Linked DNA regions of Homo sapiens: all the other regions are linked to region 4. The links are contacts of gene promoters, found by promoter capture Hi-C in blood cells and fetal thymus (Javierre and others, 2016). All regions are on one chromosome and are shown on one strand. The core of a region is centred on a gene start or on the middle of the fragment in contact, and the rest is flanking DNA. Distances in the headings are between cores, read along the strand shown.

Region 1 (2,814 bases), core at 234-2,733, 130 kb after region 4:
AGCTACTCCCCTACAATGCTTTGAAAATTTTTTTAAAATTAGAACCCTAAGGGACTATCTTTTGATACTATCAATGTTCAACATCTGGTATGCTTTTATATGTCTGAGAAAAGTGGTTTTCAAACTTTGGGTTACTACCCACTAGTATACCATGAAATAAATTTAGTGGATCATGACCACATTTGAAAATTGAATAGAATGAAATATATAGGTAATTTCAAATTATGTCATAAAAAGACTAAGCATTGTTCACAAGCATTTATTTCTATTAAGCTTGTGTGTTTCAAAATATGTAAAATATAATCTTAACTATTGGTTGCAGTAAAAAAAGTTTGAAAAATAGTTTCTGGTGTATATACATTAAATTATATGATAGTACAGGCAAAAATTTTTACACATTAACACACAACTCCAATTTATGCTATATGAATTATTATTTGGGCACAGGCATCTGCATTCAACTAGATTGCACTAGAGCTTTGTGACATTAATTAAAAAATTATAGCTTCATATTCCCAGATTCTGTGATTGGTCACAATATTAATGTGCCTGCACAATCCTCTCCAGGATGAATGAGGAAAGGATACTAAAAAACTGGTCTTCTGACCCTTTCGAATCAAGTGATAACACTTAGAGTTGTATCATAGGATATAGGTTTTCTGGTTTATTTTTGAAAGCAAAAAGCATATTTAAAGGTTAACTAAAAACGCACTGGATTTACAAAAAAGAAAAATGATATGTCTGAATAGGAGTCATTATTTTAAGACTAAAAAAAGAGAATCAAATGAAGAAATGCTGGAAAATTGGAATCACTTCCAAATTGCTCTATTTAATTTTACCATAAGCATAATAGTGGGTGAAGTTCAGCTAAAGATAGGGGCATGAAAAAAATGTGATTTGGTATTGCTCTTTAGGGAGGCAAATTAATTACAAATTAAGACCATCTGGGTTAAAGAATGAATTGTCACCTTTTAAGAACCAGGAATAAAGGTAAATGTTCACTTTAAAACAAAGGGAGAAAGAACATGAGAAAAATCAAGAGTAAATCCGTACAATATTACATACACACAAATTGGGGGAAATAAACATTGGCATGGAAATGCCACAAAATAAAATACCTATGGAATGTAAAAGTCAACTATGGTCACTGAATATTGAACCCAAAGTTATTGGGGAAGGTAGAATTTCCTTGTATTTCTTTCCCAGGGCACTGGGGAGGGAAGTTGGGGATAATCGGCTTCAGGAACTTGAACTCATTGGTCCCTGAGCCTCCTGCCAGACACACCTCATACTGGTAGCTCTGGGATAGGGTCCTGGTGCCGCTCATGTCCACAAGATGCCCTGGAAGGGGGCCCTCGGGCACCAAGCAGCGACCCACCGAGGCCGCCCTGCTCCTCCTACACAGCCGCACCGCCACGAACAGGAGCACCGAAAAGAGGAAGAGCGAAGACACCGAGGCCAACGCCACCACCAGGTAGACGGTGAGCAAGTCGGCCTGGGCCTGGGTCGGGGCCGCCTCCGGGAGAGGCAGGTAGGGCTGGGAGAAGCCGTCCACCAGGAGCACGTGCAGCGTGGCGGTGGCCGAGCGCGGAGGCTCGCCATTGTCCTTGACCAGCACCACCAGCCTGTGCTTGGCCGCGTCGCGCTCGCTCAGCAGCCTGGCGGTGCGCACCTCGCCATTGTGCGCCCACACGCCGAACAGACCGAGCTCCGTGGCCTTGAGCAGCTGGTACGACAGCCAGGCGTTCTGGCCCGAGTCGCCGTCCACCGCCACCACCTTGGTCACCAGGTAGCCCGGCTCGGCCGCCCGGGGCACCAGCTCGGTGCAGGGCGCGGAGCCGTTCTGCAGCGGGTACAGCACGAAGGGCGAGTTGTCGTTGGCGTCCAGCACCACCACGCGCACCAGCGCCTCGCTGCTCAGCGCCGGGGAGCCGTGGTCTGAAGCGCCCACGCGGAACTGGAACCCCTGCAGGGCCTCGTAGTCCAGAGACCTGAGGGCGAACAGGTGGCCGTTGTCCGCGTTGATGGAGACCAGGGATGTGAGGGGCAGGTGCGGGTCCTGGGGCGGCAGCAGCGAGTAGGTGACCTGGGCGTTGGTGCCTGAGTCTCTGTCTGTAGCGCTGACGCTGCGGATGTGCAGGGCGGGGCTGTTGTTCTCGCGGACGAACAGGGTGTAGGAGGTTTGGGTGAAGGCGGGAGCGTTGTCATTGACATCGGCGATCAGCACGGTCATATTGAGCTGTGTTATCAGCATAGGGGTCCCCAAGTCAGTGACAGTGATAGTGATGTTGTATTCCGCTCTGCTTTCTCTGTCTAGTGGTCTCTCCGTTAGTAGGGTGTAAAAGTTTTCCGCGGATTTCAGGAGGAAGGGTAGATCCTCCTGAATGGAGCAACTAATTTTCCCATTTTCTCCTGAATCAAGATCTGAAACACTGAAAAGTGCAACCACAGTTTCAGGCGCGTTCTCAGGTATTGGGCTGGTAAATGCAGACATGGTAACTTCTGGGGCATGGTCGTTCACATCTATCACTTGAATCAGAACGGTGCATTTTCCAGAAAAGGTTCCAGCATCTCTTGCCTCAATATTGACTTCATAGGACTGAAGTTTTTCGAAATCGAGTTGTTTTTTTAGTTCAATTTCTCCTGTCAAGGGATTGATCTTAAAGGTTTTGCCAATCTCTTCTGAAGCTTGGAAAAGTGAATAGGAAATCTCTCCGTTGACTCCTGTGTCTACATCCGTGGCAGAGACCTTCACAACCAGGAAGCCTACCGGACTGTCCTCAGAGATCTGCACTCTATAGAAAGGCTGCTCAA
Region 2 (2,700 bases), core at 200-2,699, 140 kb before region 4:
GAATCACACAGTGGCCCTCCATGGCAGGCTGTCCCTGGTCACGGGCTCTTGCATGAATTTCATAGAAACGTGACTCCTCAAAGTCTATGGGACCCAACACATGGATTGCCCCACTGCTAGGGTCTAGGCCAAAGAGGTTCCGCACTGCCTCAGATGTGTGGTCTCCAAAAGAATAGTCTAGTTGGCCGTTGGTGCCCTCGTCTGGATCAGTGGCATTGAGGCGGAGCAGCAGAGTACCAATGGGTGCATTCTCTGGGATTCCCACACGTAGAACTGAGGATTGGAAGGTTGGAGCATTATCATTGATGTCCAGCACGATGACAGAGATAAGGGTGGTCCCTGAGCGGGCTGGGGTCCCCCCATCCACAGCAGTAAGCACCAGCTGATGTCTTGCCTGGGCTTCACGATCCAGCTGCTGCTCTAGCACCAGCTCTGGGAATGGCTTCCCATCTTTTAGGGTCTTCACATTCAGAGAGAAGTGGCTGTTGGGGCTTAGAGTGTAAAAGCTCACAGTATTGGTGCCCACATCCGGATCCTGGGCACTGTCCAGTGGGAATCGTGCCCCAGATGCTGCTGATTCTGAGATGCGCATCTCTCGCTCAGGGGTGGCAAAGCTAGGAGAGTTGTCATTGAGATCCAGGATCTCTACCTCTACACGGATTAGCTCCAGGGGGTGTTCAGTCACCACCTGCACTGGCAGCAGGCAGCTGGTGCTGGCTCCACATAGGCTTTCTCGGTCAATCTTTTGATTCACTGCCAGGGCACCACTCATCAAGCTCAGGGAAAAATAGCGCCCATTCTCCTCAGAGCCCAATTGCAGCCGCCGGCTCAACAGATCTGTCATCTTTAAGCCCAGATCCTGAGCAACATTCCCCACCAGCGTCCCCGGCTCAGACTCCTCCACCACTGAGTAACGAAGCTGCCCAGACACCCAGCCCCAGCAGCACAAGGACAACATGCACAGCACTTGCCATTTCCCAGCGAGCTGTGGGAGTGTCTTGGGCCCCATGACCCAGAAGTCCCTTTGTGGAGAGTAAGTCTGTGCTGTCCTGTCTCCAAGGTAGACCCAGGGCTTGGAATGCAGCAGCTGAAGTCTCTTATGTCTCCTTCCAGCCTCTTAAAAACTGCTCGGAGGTTTGCCTGCTTGCAGCAGTTCTTAGTCACCGAGTGGCGGGGGTGGGCAGGGGGGAGGGGAGCTGAATTTGAGTGGAGCTGGGGAGCTGGAGGAGGAGAGGCGGGCTGGAAGAGCAGATCTCCCACCTCAGCTCTGAGTCTGATTGGCCAAAAAGTCTGTGTGCTCTCAACCAATTATGGAGTTTCCTCAATCCTGGAAACCTTGGGAACACAGGCTGCAAATCTGTGTCACAGAAGCTTCCTACCTCCCCACTCACTTCGTGCTGCAGGTTGATTCAGCCCCCTTGGCAGCAAAGTTTGACAGCTCAGATGGTACTCAACAGGGAAGACAAAGTGATACAAAACTCCTCAGCGTTCTGTCCCAGCAACTTCCTGCATGACTTCAGAAGCTTCCACCACTTTGCTTGAACCAGCAAAATCTTGTCCTTCTGGGAGAGGCAAAGCCCATGTATTCCCCCACCCTCCCCCATCCTGCTGAATGCTGCTAAGGTGAGAGAAAAGATTAGTAAGAACCTTGTAAAGTCTTGCCCTGACTCTCCAGCAATGCTTTGCGGAAATCTCAATGTCAGCTGACATGGGACTTAGCTTTTCTGACACCCCAGACCCCAAATGTGGAATGAGTGTTACAGTTTTTGGGTAGGGGAACATTTCTGGGGCTGAATCAGGTCACCCAGGAGGGTGGTCAGAGGCCAAGCATGGATGGCTTGGCTTCTAGGTTTCATGGTTTCACCAAATTCAGGAGAACTCAACTTAAAGATGCACAGGGTGGCTGTTTCTATGAATCAGCCAACTGTAAACCAGTTTTCTGACATAAGTGATTTCACTTACTGTTTTTTCCAAAGGTGATGACCAACCCGCCCCAACCTTCCAATTTACCGCATCTAGTTCAAATCCCCAGTAGGGACTTGATATGAGTCCTAAGACCCAGACCAAAAGATCTATGCCACCACTCTGATGCGTGCCTCTCTATTCCTTTAGTTCTCTCCTCTTTCTGCTGTCTCTATGTTTCAAATAGAGAGGTCCCTTCACAGTGTACTAGATACTGGGAGACAAAGATTTTATTTCCCCTCAATCCCTTGGGAAATGGTAACCTAGAGTTAAGGTACTTCAGAATCTGATCCCCTCTTTCAGGAAGAGTAGAGAAAACAGCCACCTTTGTCCAAGTGACTGCCTGGTGCACTGTACCCTGTGCACTGTAGCCTCCTGTGCTCCCACATTCCATCATCATGCTTCCACAACAGCCTGGCTCTTGATCACCAATTACTTTCATTTCTTACTCAGATATAGGCATGACCCGCCCCCAATGCTAAACTGTGACAACTCTGGTTAATTCACGAAACAGTTACAAAGCACAGCGTCTACCACATAGTTACCTCTTACAAAAATGGTGACATCACTATGGGCACTTACTGAGAGGCCAGTACTCTCTAGGACATGGCCTAGCCATATGCCTGGATCAGAATAACCCTCAAGCATTTGTTGAGCCTGCAAAGGTCTCACCTCTAGCCCATAGAGAAGATCAGAGGGTGGGCAGCTTGGGCGAACAGGCTCCCCTGCCATAGGTGC
Region 3 (2,950 bases), core at 250-2,749, 210 kb after region 4:
CGGTGACAGTGATGGTGATGTTGTACTCGGCTTGGCTCTCTCTGTCCAGTGTTCTCTGTGTCACTAGGGTGTAAAAGTTTTTTAATGTGGGCTTCAAAAGAAAGGGGAGATCATTCTGGATGGAGCAAATCATCCTACCGTTGTCCCCGGAGTCTGGATCAGAAACACTGAAAACGGCAACTACAGTTTCCGGGGCATTTTCTGGGGTAGGGCTGGAGAGCGTAGACATGGTGAGTTCAGGGGCGTTGTCATTCACATCCACCACTTCTATAGCCACAGTGCATTTTCCTGAAAGGCCCCCACCATCTGTGGCTACAATTTCCACGTTATAATATGGAGTTGCCTCGAAATCCAATGCCCTTTTCAGGCGAATTTCTGCTGTTTTCTCGTCTATTACAAATGGTTGAGTAACTTCATCGCCTTGGAATAGAGCATAGGCTACACTCCCATATGCTCCTGCATCTAAATCTCGAGCGGAGACAACGACAACTAAGGAGTTAAGGGGGCTGTTCTCGGGCACCTGTACCTCATAGAATGATTGTAAAAATTCGGGGGCGTTGTCATTATTATCCAAGACGACAATGCGAATTGTGGTGGTCCCGGACCTGGGCGGAGCCCCACCGTCCAGTGCAGTGAGTGTTAAGCTGAGCTCAGGCCGCTCCTCCCGGTCCAGCGCTTTGTCCAGCACCAGCTCTGGGTATTTTCTGCCATCTCCGCGATTATGCGTAGCAACATGAAAGTGTGAATTTGGGCTGATTGTGTAGTTCTGAACAGTGTTGCTACCTATGTCAAAGTCCTGGGCTATTTTTAAGGGAAACACAGTCCCTGGCTGGGTGCTCTCTGGGATTTTTAGGAGCATTTCCTTCTCTGGGAACTCTGGGGCATGGTCATTTATATCTGTGAGCTGCAGATCAGTTTGAAAAAACTGCACTGGATTTTCTAGTAAGAGCTGGAAATGCAATATACAGGGTTCTGTCGCCCCGCACATCACCTCCCGGTCTAGTTTTTCATATAGAAGCAAATTGCCGGTCTTTATATCAAGCTGCAAGAGCTCTTTGTTTCCTTTGTAATGCATTCGCGCGCCCCGAGTGGCCAGTTCCCCCACCCCAAGACCCAGGTCTTTTGCCAGGTTGGCCACAGAATAGCCACTTTCTGTTTCTTCTGGTATGGAATACCTAACTGCCTCAGAGCCAGCCTCCCACAAAAGCAACAATATAGCAAGAAACATAACTTGCCTTTTCTGTGGCGTTTTTGCTAGCGCAGTCTCCATTGTTCAGACCCGGTCCAGAAGGCGCAGTTTAACTCCGTACACAATCCACCCAGATGATTTGCATAAATAACCGCGAATCCGATCTTTCTTGACTGATTTCCACAAGAACGAAGCCCACCCTGAAGATCTAGCCACTAGATCTTACCTAAAATGCGTCCTTCTTTTAGAGTTTGGATTCCCCAGCTTAATGGCGTCTGAGTTATCCGCAGAGCCCACTATCCACACTCTTAGCCTGCAGCGCCACCAGGCGTCCTAATTTACTATTGCATATAGTATTTGCCATTTCATCCTAAATTCTAACTGACGTGTATCCATACCCTTTTGTCACATAAGCTCTCCCGATGGTATCTCCAGCTCTTAGTTGCTGAAAGTTCTAAATAAATGTTGTGGAGTTAATTTTCAGTGAGAAAATACTTTTGAGAAAAAAACTAAAATTATATATTAATCTCCATAAAAGTACCCTTGAGTACACAAATACACTTTGTTTGGTGTTTCTTATTTGATTATATTAAATAAGTGATCAGGAATATCTATAGAAATTTAAAGTTTAAGAAAAATTACTTTCACTTTGAAGTAAACACCAATAACACCCAGAAAATGGCACAAATCATAGGTGTATAACTCAATGAATTTTCGCAAAGTGAACACACTCCTGTAAGTAGAACCTAGATTAAAAATACTACCCAAACCCAAGTCCCCACCTGCTATTGTCTGGTTACCACCCTCTCCCCAAAAGATAAGCACTGTCCTGACTTCTGTTGTCATAGGTTTTTTTTGCTTTTTTTTTTTTTAACTTTATACAAATGGAGTTATAGATTGTTACTCTCGTGTGTCTGGCTTCTTCTCCTCAATATTATGTTCAGCAAATTGATCTGTGGCATCTTGTTCTTATTTGTTTTATTCTCATTGCTTTATATCATTCTGTTGTATGAATATACTATGATTTATTTATTCATTCTCCAGTTGATGAACATTGTTTTCCAGGTTTAAGCTCTTTGGGGTAGTACTGGTATAAACATCCTTGTACTAGTCTTTTGGTGACCACATATATGTGTTTATGTTGAATATATTCAAAGGAGTTGGATTGCTATGCATTAAGATGTGCACATATATTTTGCTTTAGCAGATAATGAGAAAGTTTTCTCAAGTAGTCGTACTAATACCAGCAAAGTATGAGAGTTCCAGTTGCTCCACATTCTTGTCAACATTTGATGCTATCTTTTCCATTTTAAACCACTCTGGTTAGTGTATGGTGATATGATATTGTAATTTTAGTTAGCATTTTCCCTGATGATTAAACAATTTGAGCACATTTTCATGTTTATCAGCCATTAGGATACAATCTTGTGAAGGGCTTATGCAAACCTTTTTACTTTTTTGGGGGGAGGCATTTGCCTGTTTGCTTATTGATCTGCAGAAGTTTCTCATATATTCTGGGCATAAGTCCTTTTTAAGATATATGTATTGCAAATATCTTTTCCCACTCTATGGTTTTTATTTCAAGTCTATTATGTGTCTTTGATGAATAAAATTTCTTACCTTTAGTCAGATTTGTCAATAAGTTTCATGTATGATTAGCATTTTTTTGTGTTCTATTTAAATGTTCACATACTCCAAGGTCATGAAAATATTCTTGTATGATGTATTTTGAAAGATTAATTATTCCATTTTTCATATTTA
Region 4 (2,700 bases), core at 92-2,591:
GGTGGATTCTAATTTGAAAGGAACTTCTTCCTGAGTATAGCATGTCACCATGCCATTTTGCCCAGAATCCTTGTCTCGCACTTTTATGAGGGCTATTACAGTTCCAAGGTCTGAATCCTCTGGAATCTGGTTAGAGAAGGACATGAATGTCACCTCTGGGGCATTGTCATTCTCGTCAACAATTTCTATTTGAACATTACAGTGAGCTGTGTGTACTCCTCCATCCTTAGCTTCCACACTCAACACATATCTACTTGTCTCTTCAAAATCCAATGTGCCATTGGTTGTGATGTCGCCAGTATTTGGATTGAGATTGAAGAGGCTGGTACTTATTGGGGAATTGAGGAAGGCATAGGTGATCTCTGCATTAATGCCCTCATCCTGGTCTGTGGCCATCACCCGCAGCACGGAGGTTCCCCACGGTACGTTTTCTTGGAGGCTAACCCTGTATACCTCCTGGCTAAACACGGGAGCATTATCATTGGCATCCGTAACTCGGATCCAGATATGGGTGGTGCCGCTTAGAGGCGGGTCCCCGCCATCCATGGCAGTCAGGATTAAGCGATGAGAGCTCTGATGTTCCCTGTCTAGAGGTTTTTCCAGCAGTAATACCGGATATTTACTTCCATCAGGACTTTCCTTCGTTGACAGAGAGAAGTATTGATTGGGGTTGATGGTGTATAACTTCAGTGAATTGCCTTCCACATCTGCATCTTGAGCAGAATCCAGAGAGAATTTTACCCCGGGTAAGGCTGACTCACAAATTTCTAAGTCAATGCCTTTTGCAACGAAACGTGGTGCATTGTCATTAATATCTTGGATTACAACAACCACGTGGAAAACATTCATTGGGTTTTCAGCGACCGTTTCGAATTCTAGTGCACACTCAAGTTTCCTTCCGCAAATCTTCTCTCGATCTATCCTACCGTTCACTAACAAATCCCCGCTCTCCAAACTAACGTTGAAATAATCCTCTGCACTAACCCGCAGTTTTCGAGTTGGCAACTCCCGGACACTGAGCCCCAGATCCTTGGCAAGTTTCCCCACCCGTGAGCCGTTGGCTAGCTCCTCTGGAATCGTGTATCGGATCTGCTGGGAGATGGCCCCGCAGAACAAAGACAGCAGGAAGGGAAACAGTACCTGACTTTTCATCATTTCGGCTTCTCTGGCTCTCTGCATTTCAGGAACTCTCCGCGGAGCTTCTTTCCTCTGGGATGTTTTTCAAAAAGAAATGGCAGCACCCTGGACTTCTGTGATTTGAGCTTAGGACTTATTAGTTAGGCGCTCGAGGGTGAACAGGAGCAGCGTCTGTGCTCAGTGCACCGGACAAAGCAGGAAGGCACCCTGCCTGACGCTCCTGCAGAATTGAGAAGCCTTCACTTCCTTTTGGTCGACAGCGGCGCCCAGAGGTTGTCTTGGAAAACTGCACAGGGCCCAGCTTTTTATCCTCAAAGCGCAACCTCTTGAATCTATGTACCCTGTCTTTAATTTGCTGGAGGGAAACACATACTCACATTTTCCCCTTTACATTTCAGTTTTCTAGTTTGTCATCATCAGATAAGGGCCTTCATCATTTCGTATTCTTTTTTCATTTAAAAAATTCACAAGGTACACTGCCATTTTTTTCAGTTTTGGGGGTAAAAAAAAATCTTCAGTGATTTCACTATATTTATAAACTCTGGCATGACTGCTGTATCCAAATAAGTGAATTGATAATTTTTATTTATATTTTTAGTTGACTAAAATACCTACCTTTCTGTAAATTCATTGGAATAAGCTCCCTTATCTAGTATTTTAAATCTCTCCATATATATGTTATCAATTCAGTAATACTTTTCAAAAATAGTTTTTGCAAAAAAGAGGAAATCACAGCCTTACTATTATGTTATTTCTCTTCTTTATAAAATATAGATAATCTTTCCAGTTAAGTAGGACAAAGTCTGATATTTTGTTAAAAGGGCCAATTTAGTGTTGGGGTACACATACATGCTTTTATGAAGTGGAATCTCATATAATGTACATTTGTTTTATGAAACCAGTGCTTCTTTTTTATATGAATGTATATTAAATACTCTAGGCTGGGTGCAGTGACCTGTGATCCCAGCACTTTGGGAGGCCAAGGTGGGAAGAACACATGAGGTCAGGAGTTTGAGACTAGCCTGTCCAACATGGTGCAAGCCATCTCTACTAAAAAAAATAAAAATTATCCAGGCATGGTGGCGGGTACCTGTAACGCCAGCTACTCGGGAGGTTGAGGCAGCAGAATCACTTAACTCAGGAGGCAGAGGTTGCAGTGAGTTGAGATCATGCCACTGAAGTCCATCCTGGGTGACAGAGCAAGACTCTGTCTCAAAAACATTCTCTATAATGCCAATTCTCAGCTCCAGCCGACTTATACCATTAATGAGCAAAACGAGTTTGACTTGACCACTGGTAAATATTGGAGAGGTATTCAGAGTTCTTAGACACCCAATTTTGGAACTTATTCTGTAGTTCCAGGCTTAGAACCAGTCTTGGTTCAAAGCAAATCCCTTTATTTCAAATGCATTACCAAATGAGATCCAACTCAACAATTTATTCTACTATTTTGCAGTGCTCACCCATACTCATACTCTATTCGAAACAGCCTATTATCTGTTTTCTTAAGATACCTTTTCACTTGTTTCCTTGCATCATGCCTTTATACTTTCCATTCCTTTT

What was found. The method cuts DNA at HindIII sites, captures the fragments that hold promoters and counts their contacts. A CHiCAGO score of 5 or more calls a contact.
Region 1: a fragment that was not itself captured here is called in contact with the fragment with the promoter of PCDHGB1 in region 4 in 1 of 17 cell types (endothelial precursors); the score reaches 8.1 in endothelial precursors.
Region 2: a contact is called between a fragment that was not itself captured here and the fragment with the promoter of PCDHGB1 in region 4, in 1 of 17 cell types (total CD8 T cells). The highest score is 5.1, in total CD8 T cells.
Region 3: the fragment with the promoter of PCDHB5 here is called in contact with the fragment with the promoter of PCDHGB1 in region 4 in 17 of 17 cell types (monocytes, neutrophils, erythroblasts and 14 more); the score reaches 26.4 in monocytes.

The regions. Positions count from the first base shown.
Region 1 is chr5:141,214,851-141,217,664 of GRCh38, reverse strand. It overlaps PCDHB13 (protocadherin beta 13), which reads right to left. Exons shown (of 1, transcript NM_018933.4): 1 at 1-2,814. The coding sequence ends at 1,145. It also overlaps PCDHB@. Among named protein-coding and RNA genes, the nearest start is that of PCDHB13, 2.3 kb to the right of the region's middle. RefSeq lists an enhancer at 1,641-2,169. The HindIII fragment of the contact is 2,415 bases long and covers 276-2,690 here.
Region 2 is chr5:141,487,550-141,490,249 of GRCh38, reverse strand. The region is part of intron 1 of PCDHGA1 (protocadherin gamma subfamily A, 1); the gene reads right to left. The region is part of intron 1 of PCDHGA2 (protocadherin gamma subfamily A, 2); the gene reads right to left. All of the region lies in intron 1 of PCDHGA3 (protocadherin gamma subfamily A, 3), which reads right to left. All of the region lies in intron 1 of PCDHGB1 (protocadherin gamma subfamily B, 1), which reads right to left. It also overlaps PCDHGA4, PCDHGB2, PCDHGA5, PCDHGB3, PCDHGA6 and PCDHGA7, and 13 more genes. The HindIII fragment of the contact is 152 bases long and covers 1,374-1,525 here.
Region 3 is chr5:141,133,755-141,136,704 of GRCh38, reverse strand. PCDHB5 (protocadherin beta 5) reads right to left here and starts at 1,499. Exons shown (of 1, transcript NM_015669.5): 1 at 1-1,499. The coding sequence starts at 1,270. It also overlaps PCDHB@. The HindIII fragment of the contact is 16,081 bases long and covers 1-2,950 here.
Region 4 is chr5:141,348,740-141,351,439 of GRCh38, reverse strand. PCDHGB1 (protocadherin gamma subfamily B, 1) reads right to left here and starts at 1,341. Exons shown (of 4, transcript NM_018922.3): 1 at 1-1,341. The coding sequence starts at 1,179. All of the region lies in intron 1 of PCDHGA1 (protocadherin gamma subfamily A, 1), which reads right to left. The region is part of intron 1 of PCDHGA2 (protocadherin gamma subfamily A, 2); the gene reads right to left. All of the region lies in intron 1 of PCDHGA3 (protocadherin gamma subfamily A, 3), which reads right to left. It also overlaps PCDHG@. The HindIII fragment of the contact is 7,439 bases long and covers 1-2,700 here.